3 separate regions of the Homo sapiens genome follow, and all the other regions are linked to region 1. Evidence: promoter capture Hi-C in 16 types of primary human blood cells and fetal thymus (Javierre and others, 2016). All regions are on one chromosome and are shown on one strand. Each heading gives the region's core, a stretch centred on a gene start or on the middle of the fragment in contact. The rest is flanking DNA. Distances are from core to core; before and after follow the strand shown. Region 1 holds the start of SLC13A4 (solute carrier family 13 member 4). Region 2 has its middle 71 kb from the start of MTPN. Region 3 has its middle 51 kb from the start of MTPN.

The links. Contacts are between HindIII fragments. The CHiCAGO score rates a contact against its expected background, and 5 or more counts as called.
Region 2: a fragment that was not itself captured here is called in contact with the fragment with the promoter of SLC13A4 in region 1 in 1 of 17 cell types (neutrophils); the score reaches 6.3 in neutrophils.
Region 3: a contact is called between a fragment that was not itself captured here and the fragment with the promoter of SLC13A4 in region 1, in 1 of 17 cell types (neutrophils). The highest score is 7.2, in neutrophils.

The regions. Positions count from the first base shown.
Region 1 is chr7:135,726,690-135,729,667 of GRCh38, forward strand. SLC13A4 (solute carrier family 13 member 4) reads right to left here and starts at 1,497. Exons shown (of 16, transcript NM_001318192.2): 1 at 709-1,497. The coding sequence starts at 807. FAM180A (family with sequence similarity 180 member A) reads right to left here. Exons shown (of 4, transcript NM_205855.4): 4 at 2,903-2,978. The HindIII fragment of the contact is 523 bases long and covers 1,204-1,726 here.
Region 2 is chr7:136,047,103-136,050,080 of GRCh38, forward strand. It overlaps a transcript of LOC105375523 not described here. Among named protein-coding and RNA genes, the nearest start is that of MTPN, 71 kb to the left of the region's middle. The HindIII fragment of the contact is 2,958 bases long and covers 39-2,978 here.
Region 3 is chr7:136,027,148-136,030,125 of GRCh38, forward strand. It overlaps a transcript of LOC105375523 not described here. Among named protein-coding and RNA genes, the nearest start is that of MTPN, 51 kb to the left of the region's middle. The HindIII fragment of the contact is 5,093 bases long and covers 1-2,978 here.

The DNA.
Region 1 (2,978 bases), core at 247-2,746:
AGTTTGGGGGCTCTTATCTCTTTTTTATCGTGTCACTTTTTGTCTGTCCTTCAAGAGGACAGAGAAGAAAACACAGAAGACACAAATAATTCAAGGCCACGTGCATGGGAGCAGGGCAGCCTGCTAAGTTCTGCTTTCATTCCTTCCCTAAACATTCATTCCCTGAAGTTGATAGGCGCCTTCGGGATTAGAGCTTCAACTGTGGTCATCGAAGCCCACCAGGACACGACCACAGACCACGGATTGGCTCCACGGTTCTCTTCCTCCCCCAACCTTCTCCTCAGTGCCACTATTGGGAGCTCTTTCTGTGTCTCCAGGGGCTCTCAGATAACCAGGGTCCCAGGTGAACTCCCGACAAACACAGGTGCACCATGTCGTTTGCATGGGTGTCGCTGGCCCCCGCTGCTGGGGCAGGCTGGCCTGCTGCTTGGTGCAACACCCATCAGTCACTTCTGCCAAGGCCCCTACTCTGTCCTGACCCCGGTGGGGGCCATGGGGTTGGGGGAATGGGACTGGGATAGGAGATGAACATGACAGCTTTTAGGAAGAAGATATCTTGGTTTCCTCTGGAAAAATCCTTCCATTTCTTTAAACCCACCACAAGCCACTTTGAGGGACTGCCTGAGCGCCCCATGTTCCCCTACCGACCTCCCCTCTTTGCCCTCCCACTGACTCCCAGACCCCCGGTGGGCGCAGGTCGGTACTCACGCTGCTGGGGTGGAGGACGGGCAGAGGCAGCAGCAGGAGCGGGACGCAGACGACCAGCAGCAGCTTCCGGACTCGGAGCAGGCCCTGCAGCAGGCCCATCGCGCCTCTGTCCTCTCCAGCTCGTCCTTGGACCCCGCTCTGCCGGCGAAAGGCTTCCTGCCTGGGCACTGCTCTCTATCCAGAAAGACTTCTTAAACCTTTCTTGGCTTCCGAGAGTCCTCCTTCGTCTTGGGGGCAGAACGGGAGGGCAGTTATACCCTCGCTGTTTCTACAAGAGGCTGGGCTCCTGGCCTCCTGCTTTAGGTGGGATTGATGAGCATCGTTTTGTGACCAGCAAAAAGGAACTGGGAAAGGATGATAAACGGGGGCATAGTGGGCCTCCTCTCGGCTTGATTAGTAATAGAGTAACTTCATTCTAGGTGTCAGCAGAAACCCCCTTAATCCTTTAAGCCACACCTTTGCTGCTGCTGCTCGGCCTTGAAGAAATCATTTAAAAGCTTAAAAACATTAAAAACGCTCAGAGCACATTGTGCTCTCCATCAGTTTTCCTCCCTCGGATGACCTATTTTGGGGAGTACCTGTTTCATCTCCCACCTGGGCTCGCTGTTGGTAAGACTCTAGTAGCCCCTTTCCTTAAAACAAGCACCTGAGCTTGTCAGAGTTGCATGCGGACTTCAGGTGGGGCTGCTGGTCGCTCCCAGGACGTGGTACCTTAACTCTGTTCACATGTCTTTCCCTCAAATTGGTTCCCTACTTATAATTTGCCTTGAGCCTGGGCCTGCAAAGCAGAAAAGAAAAGTCCCCAAGACATTCCTTTTTATCAAAGGACAAAACTTGCTGGAGGCCCACCTTTAACTTTCATCCACCAATGGGAAGCCGGGACAGAGACAGTAGCTCCGCCCACTTCTCAAAGCCAATCAGCAAATTGAAAAGAATGAGTCAATTTCTCTCCCCGCGGCCGCTCTTGATTGGTCACAGCGGGGGCCTGCTGATTCCGCAGAACCTAGGCAGCCTGCTAAGCTTATTTTTCAGTTTCTCAAACTTCCTAGGGCTGGAGTGATGACCATCATCGTAAACATAATCTCACGTACCCAAGCACAGCTTTATTGTTTCGGATCATAGGACACAGAGCTTTCGCTGGGAGGGCCACCTGCTGATCTAGACCTTGGGAAGGGAATGTGCCTGGTGGCAGGGAGAAAATGCAACATTACTTCTGGAGAATTTGCCTCAGAGTGTACAAAGTTAAGCCTTTCAGACCTCCCTGCTGGCAAAGATCGTTTGCCTCAGCACCGAGGGGGGAATATAAAGGGTCTAGGCCAGCAGAGGGTATGAGCTCGTGAGAAAGACCCCAGATCTTTTGGGAAGTATAGCTGCCTCCCTGGCAAAGTCTAGATGCCAGTCTCATGCCCAGATGTCAGTGGTCTCTCTGGCTAAAGTAGGTGCTCAAATGCTTCTCTCTGGGGCTCTCCAAAAAGGAAACCGAAGACCTTCTTTGGCTGGTACGAAAGGAGGAGGTGGGAGGGCAGGGAAGAAGTTGACAAGTTCAGGGACAAGGTCTTAGCTGCAGTTGAACTCTGGAATTTCTCCTGTTTACAGATTGGAAGAAGTTGTTAGCTTCTTTTCTCAGAACGGACATGTGGATTTGGGGCAAGGAAGAAAAGCAAAAGCAAAAGCCCAAACATTCTGTAAGTAGTGGTTCTTGGCAACATTACCTTACCTTGATCTGGGAGATGCTGAGCAGAGTCAAAGGGTTATAAAACCCATGTTGTCTTGAATTCACAGAACACAGGAATGGCGTTCGAAGATCTGCAACTATACTACTTGGAAATGATCCCCAGGCTAAAGTGACCAGGGAAGTGACCCAAAAAACAAATTCTTCTTGACTTTTAAGGCAGGTGCAACTGTGGACAGCTGAGGTCCCCTTTGAAATTATCTTGCCATCGTAGGATGGGCTAGGATGACTCAACTCTTTAAATGCATGTTAAAGACTGGCTACTGTATTTACTACATTCTGGCCTCATTTTTTTTTGGTTATGATTTTGAAACTCAGAATGAACAATACCACGTGTGTGATGTTTTGGTCGCAAACATTAAAGACAGCGAATAATTATAAGCAGCTGTGGAAGTCAACATCCACTGTTAAACCCATGAACCATTCCAAATTCCTCGGTGAGATACTCTGAGATAACAAAGATTCCAGTGAGCAACTCAATCATGACATCTTTATTATACCATAGATGAATATTTGTTAAATAAAAATAGGTACAGCA
Region 2 (2,978 bases), core at 268-2,767, 320 kb after region 1:
CCTGTGTCCTCACAGGGCAGAAGGGATGGAAGGGCAAAAGCTTCCTTGCTAGTACACATCAGCCCTTTTGTGAGACACTAATTCCATCCTTGAGGATAGAGCCCTCAGGGTCTAATCACCTCCCAAGGGCCCCACTTCTTAAGACAGTTGTGCTGGTGATTACGTTTCAACATAAATTTTGAGGGGACAAAAACACTGCAACCATAGCAGATCCTTTTGATTATGATGTGCCACCTGAATAATCCAGGGTAATCTCCTTATTTGCAGGTCTGTTGACTAGCAACCTTTATTTTATTTGCAACCTTAATTCCCCCTTGCCATGTAAGGTAACCTATTCACCTTGGTTCTGAAGATTAAGCTGTGAGCATTTTGGGGGCCATTATTCCGCCTACCACAGTGTTCAATATGGATAGCTACTACTGTACAATCGGTCCTGCATCATCTGTGGGTTCTGCGTCCATGGATTTAACTGACTGCAGATTGAAAATAGTTTTTAAAAAGCATTTGTACTGAATATATACAGACTTTTTTCTCATCATGATTCCTTAAGCTATGCAATATAACTACTATTGACATGGCATTTACATTATATTAAATATTATAAGTAATCTAGAGATCATTTAAAGTATATGGGAGATGTGCCTAAGTTATATGCAAACACTATTTTATTTTGTATGAGGGACTTGAGCATATCCAGATTTTGGTATGGGGATGTCCAGGAACCAATCCCTTCCACATACTGAGGGACAGCTACATATAGTGAACTGTGCTAGTCAATGAAAAGGATGTGAAGAAAAATCCGCTGTAACCTGTTAATTCAAAGCAGCATACGGCTTGATTTCTACCTCTTAAATAGGTAGAAATAAAATGCTGTTAGTCATGGGTAGCGTTCAGAAGAGAACAAATCACACCTGGAAATGAGGATCAAGAATCAGGAATGGATCTGTGCAAACAGTATTTCATTTGAGACTAGAGGCTGGGTAAAACTTGAAGGGGTGAAGATCAGATTTAGTTTAGGAGAGGTGGTGGGAAGAGAACCTTCTAGACTAGCTATATCCAGTAGAAATATAATATAAACCAAATATAATGTAAACATTTCTAGTAGATACATTAAAGAAGAAAAAAAGGTGAAATTTATTTTATTTTATTTTATTTTGTTTTGACACAGAGTCTTACTCTGTTGCCCAGGCTGGAGTGCAATGGCGTGATCTTGGTTCACTGAAACCTCCAGCTCTCAGGTTCAAACAGTTCTCCTGCCTCAGCCTCTGGAGTAGCTGGGATTACAGGCGCCCGCCACCATGCCCAGCTAATTTTTGTATTTTTAGTATAAATGGGGTTTTACCATGTTGGCTAGGCTGGTCTCAAACTTCTGACCTCAAGTGATCCACCTGCCTTGGCCTCCCAAAGTGCTGGGATTACAGGCACCCAGCCTGAGATTACTTTTAATAATATATTTTATTTAATTCTGAATATCGAGAATATTATCATTTTGATATGTAAGGGATATAAATGAATTATTGAGGTATGTTACATGCTTTTTGTTCCTGTGTGAAGTCTTTGAAGTTTGGTATGACCTTACACTTAACAGTGCATCTCAATTTGAAGAAGCCCAATTTGTAGGACTCATTAGCTGCATGTGGCTAGTGGCCTCCATGTTGGGAGCACAGACATTGATGAAGACAATGGCATCAGCAGAAGCATGGTGACAGGAAAGTTCAGGATAATTTGGGGAACACGACAGTGCAACAAGGTAAGAGAGAAAACAAAAATATTTAGGTTTCAAATTGCAGAAGACTCAGAATGTTAAGTGTTTGTACCTAATTTGGAAGGCATTAGGAAACTAGTGAAGGTTTTAGGCAGACAAATGAAATATTTAGAGTGGCCTAAGTGTGCTTGAAGAGAGAAAGAGACATAAAACTTGATTCTTCCACTTAGAAGTTTAAAATCTTGTAGGGGAGAAGAATGTGTACACAAAGTAATAATGATCTAAGATAGAGAGTACTGTGTGTTAGATTATCAGTACACATAATAAATGCTACAAGAGAGGAAAGAAAGGAAGCCCCAAGGCTCAGAAGTCTGAGACGAGTTTTCCAGGGCTGACCTCAGAATGTCAGCAGGGTTAAGTTCCTCTGGGAGGCTCTCGGGGAGATTCTGGTTCCTTGCCCTTTCCAGTATCTAGAGGCCACCTGCATTCCTTGGCTTGTTGCCCCCTTATCTTCAGATACAGCAATTGCATCACTTCGACCTCTGACCGAGACAATAGGAGGAGCGTTGGGGAAGTTGGGGAGCGTTCCTGGTGGGAAGCTGGCTGAACCCACAGTGTGAGTGTAGGCATCTCCATGGTCTGTTTGGGAGGAGTGGAAGCTCCCAGCCTTCATTGAATAGTGAGAGATAACGATGGTGAGCTAGGTTGATGCCATATTTTGGCAGATCCATCTGAAGAGCCTGAACACTCTCTCAAAGTCAAGAGAGAACCTCTAACAATTTAATTTTTCTCTTTCCTTTTAGAGACTGGGTCTTACTGTGTCACCCAGGCTGGAGTGCAGTGGCATGATCAATGCTCTCTGCAGCCTCAACTTCCTGGGTTCAAACAATCCTCCTGCCTCAGCCTCCTCAGTATCTGGGACTAAAGGTACATGCCACCACAACTGGCTAATTTTTAATGTATTTTTTATTTGGTAGAGATAGGATCTCTCCATTTTGCCCAGGCTGGTTTTGAACTCCTGGGCTCAAGTGATCCTCTCACCTTGGCCTCTAATGATTTAAACAGTGTGATGGCATGCTCTAGGAGGCATGTTTTAAAAAGATTAATCTGACCAATGGGTGGGATGCACTGCAGGTGGGTGAGACTGAAGACTGGGAGTCCAGTTAGAAGGCTGTTGCTGTAGTTGTGGTGTGAGGTCATGAGGTTAGGAGCTGGGGTGGAGGAGTGAGCTGATTCTTAAGAATTTAAGGTGATGAGATATGGGGGAGAGGGC
Region 3 (2,978 bases), core at 240-2,739, 300 kb after region 1:
TTGCTTTATTTTACAGGTGAGGATGCTGAGATGTAGAGAGACTGATTTGCTCAAGATAACAAAGAGTTTTATTGATTTGGGAACCCATGGAAGGGGGTCAGCTGTGAGATATCACATGATCAGACTGACTGCCTGACCAGACTGACTGCCATCCTGTTAAAGGTCAGCCCTTCCCTGTGTGCTCTGGATCCTATGCCAGCTCACCTTATTGAGAACTTTGTTTCTTTATGTTCTCTTCCTCCTGCTTTAGTCATCTTTTCCTTTCAATCAGATCATCTCAGCTGCACACAAACATTTTCTAGGCTCTCTGAGCAAACAAGCAAGGACTTGAACCAACTCCTTGACCTTTCGGGCTGGAGTATTTCTTTGCATTTTTTCCTGGTCAGACTTCAACCGTTGTCTGTGCAGCCATTATAGAAATTTCTTCTTCATTTTTCATCTCCTCCCTGAGCCATTATAGTTGGCTTCCACTGTGACCACCAATTTGCTGAAACCATTGTCAAAGTCAAGGTAGAAAGTGATTTTCATTTTGCTAAATCTAGTAGACATTTCTCTATTCTTATCTAACGTGATTGTTTTTAGCAGCATCTAATCCACTTGACCACTTCTTGAAGAATTCTCCTTTTTTAATGCTCCTCATGCCTCCGGCTTTCTCCTATTTCACCAGCACCCCCTGCTCAGACTCCCTTGCCTGCTTCCCCTGCTCAACTAATCCTCTAAATGATTGTTTTCTGGGGAGCTCTTACGGACCCTTTTCCCTTTTCTGATTTTTCTCCCTAGATGGATTTCATCTATTCTATGGATTCAAATACCAAACAAATTTGGTCCTAATGTTAAAGACTACCAAACATACCTTCTGCCCTGATCCCTCATCAGAACTCCATTCTTGCAGATCCAGCTGCCTACTTGACATTTCCACCTGAGTGTCTCACAGATATGGCAAAATTTATAAGTTCAAAATGCATTGTTAACACTTCCCACAAATCTCAATCTCAGCAAATGGCCTCACAATCCTCTTGGCTACTCCAAGAATCCCAGGAATGATATTTGATTCCTTCCTTTCTCTTCTTGCACAAGTCTCATCTATCAGAAGATTATGTTTGTTGTATTTCTTAAATATGCCCTAATCTCCCTTTTTTTGAACTCCATTGCTACCATTTATTCCAGATCAATATCTTTTAGTCTTCCCACACTAATTTATTCTTCTCATATTATTAAAGGTAATGTGCTTAAAACAGAAATTGTATGAGGTCACCCCCAGGCCTGCTTAAAACTCTCCAGGGACTTGCCATTGTACCTAGAACAAGGTCTGAGGTTTAAACCATCATCTCTAGGATTTGCATAATCTCATCCCTTCTTCAATCATATGTCTTAACTTTCTTTTCCCTAGTGGATGGACTTCATCCATTCTTCTTTTTCCTTTCTCAAAAATTCCATGCTCTGTCTTGTTTCATAGTCTTTGAACATGTTCTTTTCTCATCTGTAGAATCTTTTTCTCATTCTATGTATGTCTACAGCTCTTCTTAACAATCTTTGTCTTAGCTTAAGTAACACTTCTTTAGAAAGATCTTCCTTGACTATTCTAAACTTAAGAATCTTGTTTGTCTCCACAATAGCATTAAACATAACATATAACCATTTAAACCATTTTATTTATTTGAATTTTGCCTCCTTATCTTGTTCTCTTTCAAATTGCAAACTCCCTGATGTTAGGGATGTCTTTTCTACCTCTAGCACCTATTACAGTGCCTGGCTCAATTTGCTTTATAAAGGAATAAGACACATGAAGAAATTAGTTTATATAAAAGCAGTAGGTCAGCGATCTTTTCCTTTCTGTACTAGGCTATACTGTGATCATTTGAGTAGAATGGAAAGCAGTGATAAAATTTTCTTGAAGGAAATAGTTGGGTATATCTGGCTCCCTGAGTTTTGCAATTGCTAAACTTTTGTTTATTTTTCTCCCCGTGAATATGGATGGGAGGTAGAAGGTTAATTACTATGACATTTTTTTTCTAATATATCTCAAACCTAGGTGTTAAAACAAGCATGTGTTGGCTTTTAGTCATTGTTTGTTTCAGAGGGCACATTACTATTTTGTGCCTCTGGGTATAAGGCATTTCTCTTCTTTCTGAGTTCTCTGTTTTTAATTATTATTATTCTTTGGTTTTACAAAGTGTGATATTCACCCCATGTATAATGCTCTTTCTGGACACTTTAATTCATGGAAGAACATTTTCTCCAATGATTTTTAGGGAAAAACAGTAGTTATGCTAAGATTATCTAACAGCAGGGGTTCCTAATTTTATCTTAAGTCATAGATTCCCTTGAGTGTCTAGTCCAAGCTATGTAATAATTGCATTGAAAAATGCATCTACACACACAAACATGTTTTGGGTACATGTTAATGAACTGGCTAAAGCCCATTCATGAGCCCTACACACTTAAGAACCATTATTCTGCAATGCTCATACACACCTTGGGGAATTCCCTTATTCTCCACCCATGAATTTGACAAACCAAACATTTTTGATGGAGGGGGCACATTTAGGTCCAGAGCATGAGAATTCAGTTCCCCTTACCCCTCAAAATAAGAGCTGAAGGTCTTCCTCCACCCTGAGATTGTCTAGTCTTAATAGTTATGTTATATAATACCTTCCATCATTGAAGTGCTCTCTTTTTTTTTGGTGATAACCAAATATTTTTGTATGAGGTATTTGGTTATCACCAAAAAATGTTTATTTCTTCAAAGAACTCATGATACCATTAGGAAGGTAAGACAGATGGAAACAGTTTATTAATCTACACACTGAATTCCTTGCTCTAGATGACATCAAAATAAGTAAGACCTATTTTTGTACTTAAAACACATATGATCTGCTTAGAGGGATGTTGGAAATAGACAAATGGCATTGACACAAAGGTAAATAAAATAAGGGTTGGAAGAGTCATTTGAAACTGGTGAGACAGGTAGGTTTGAT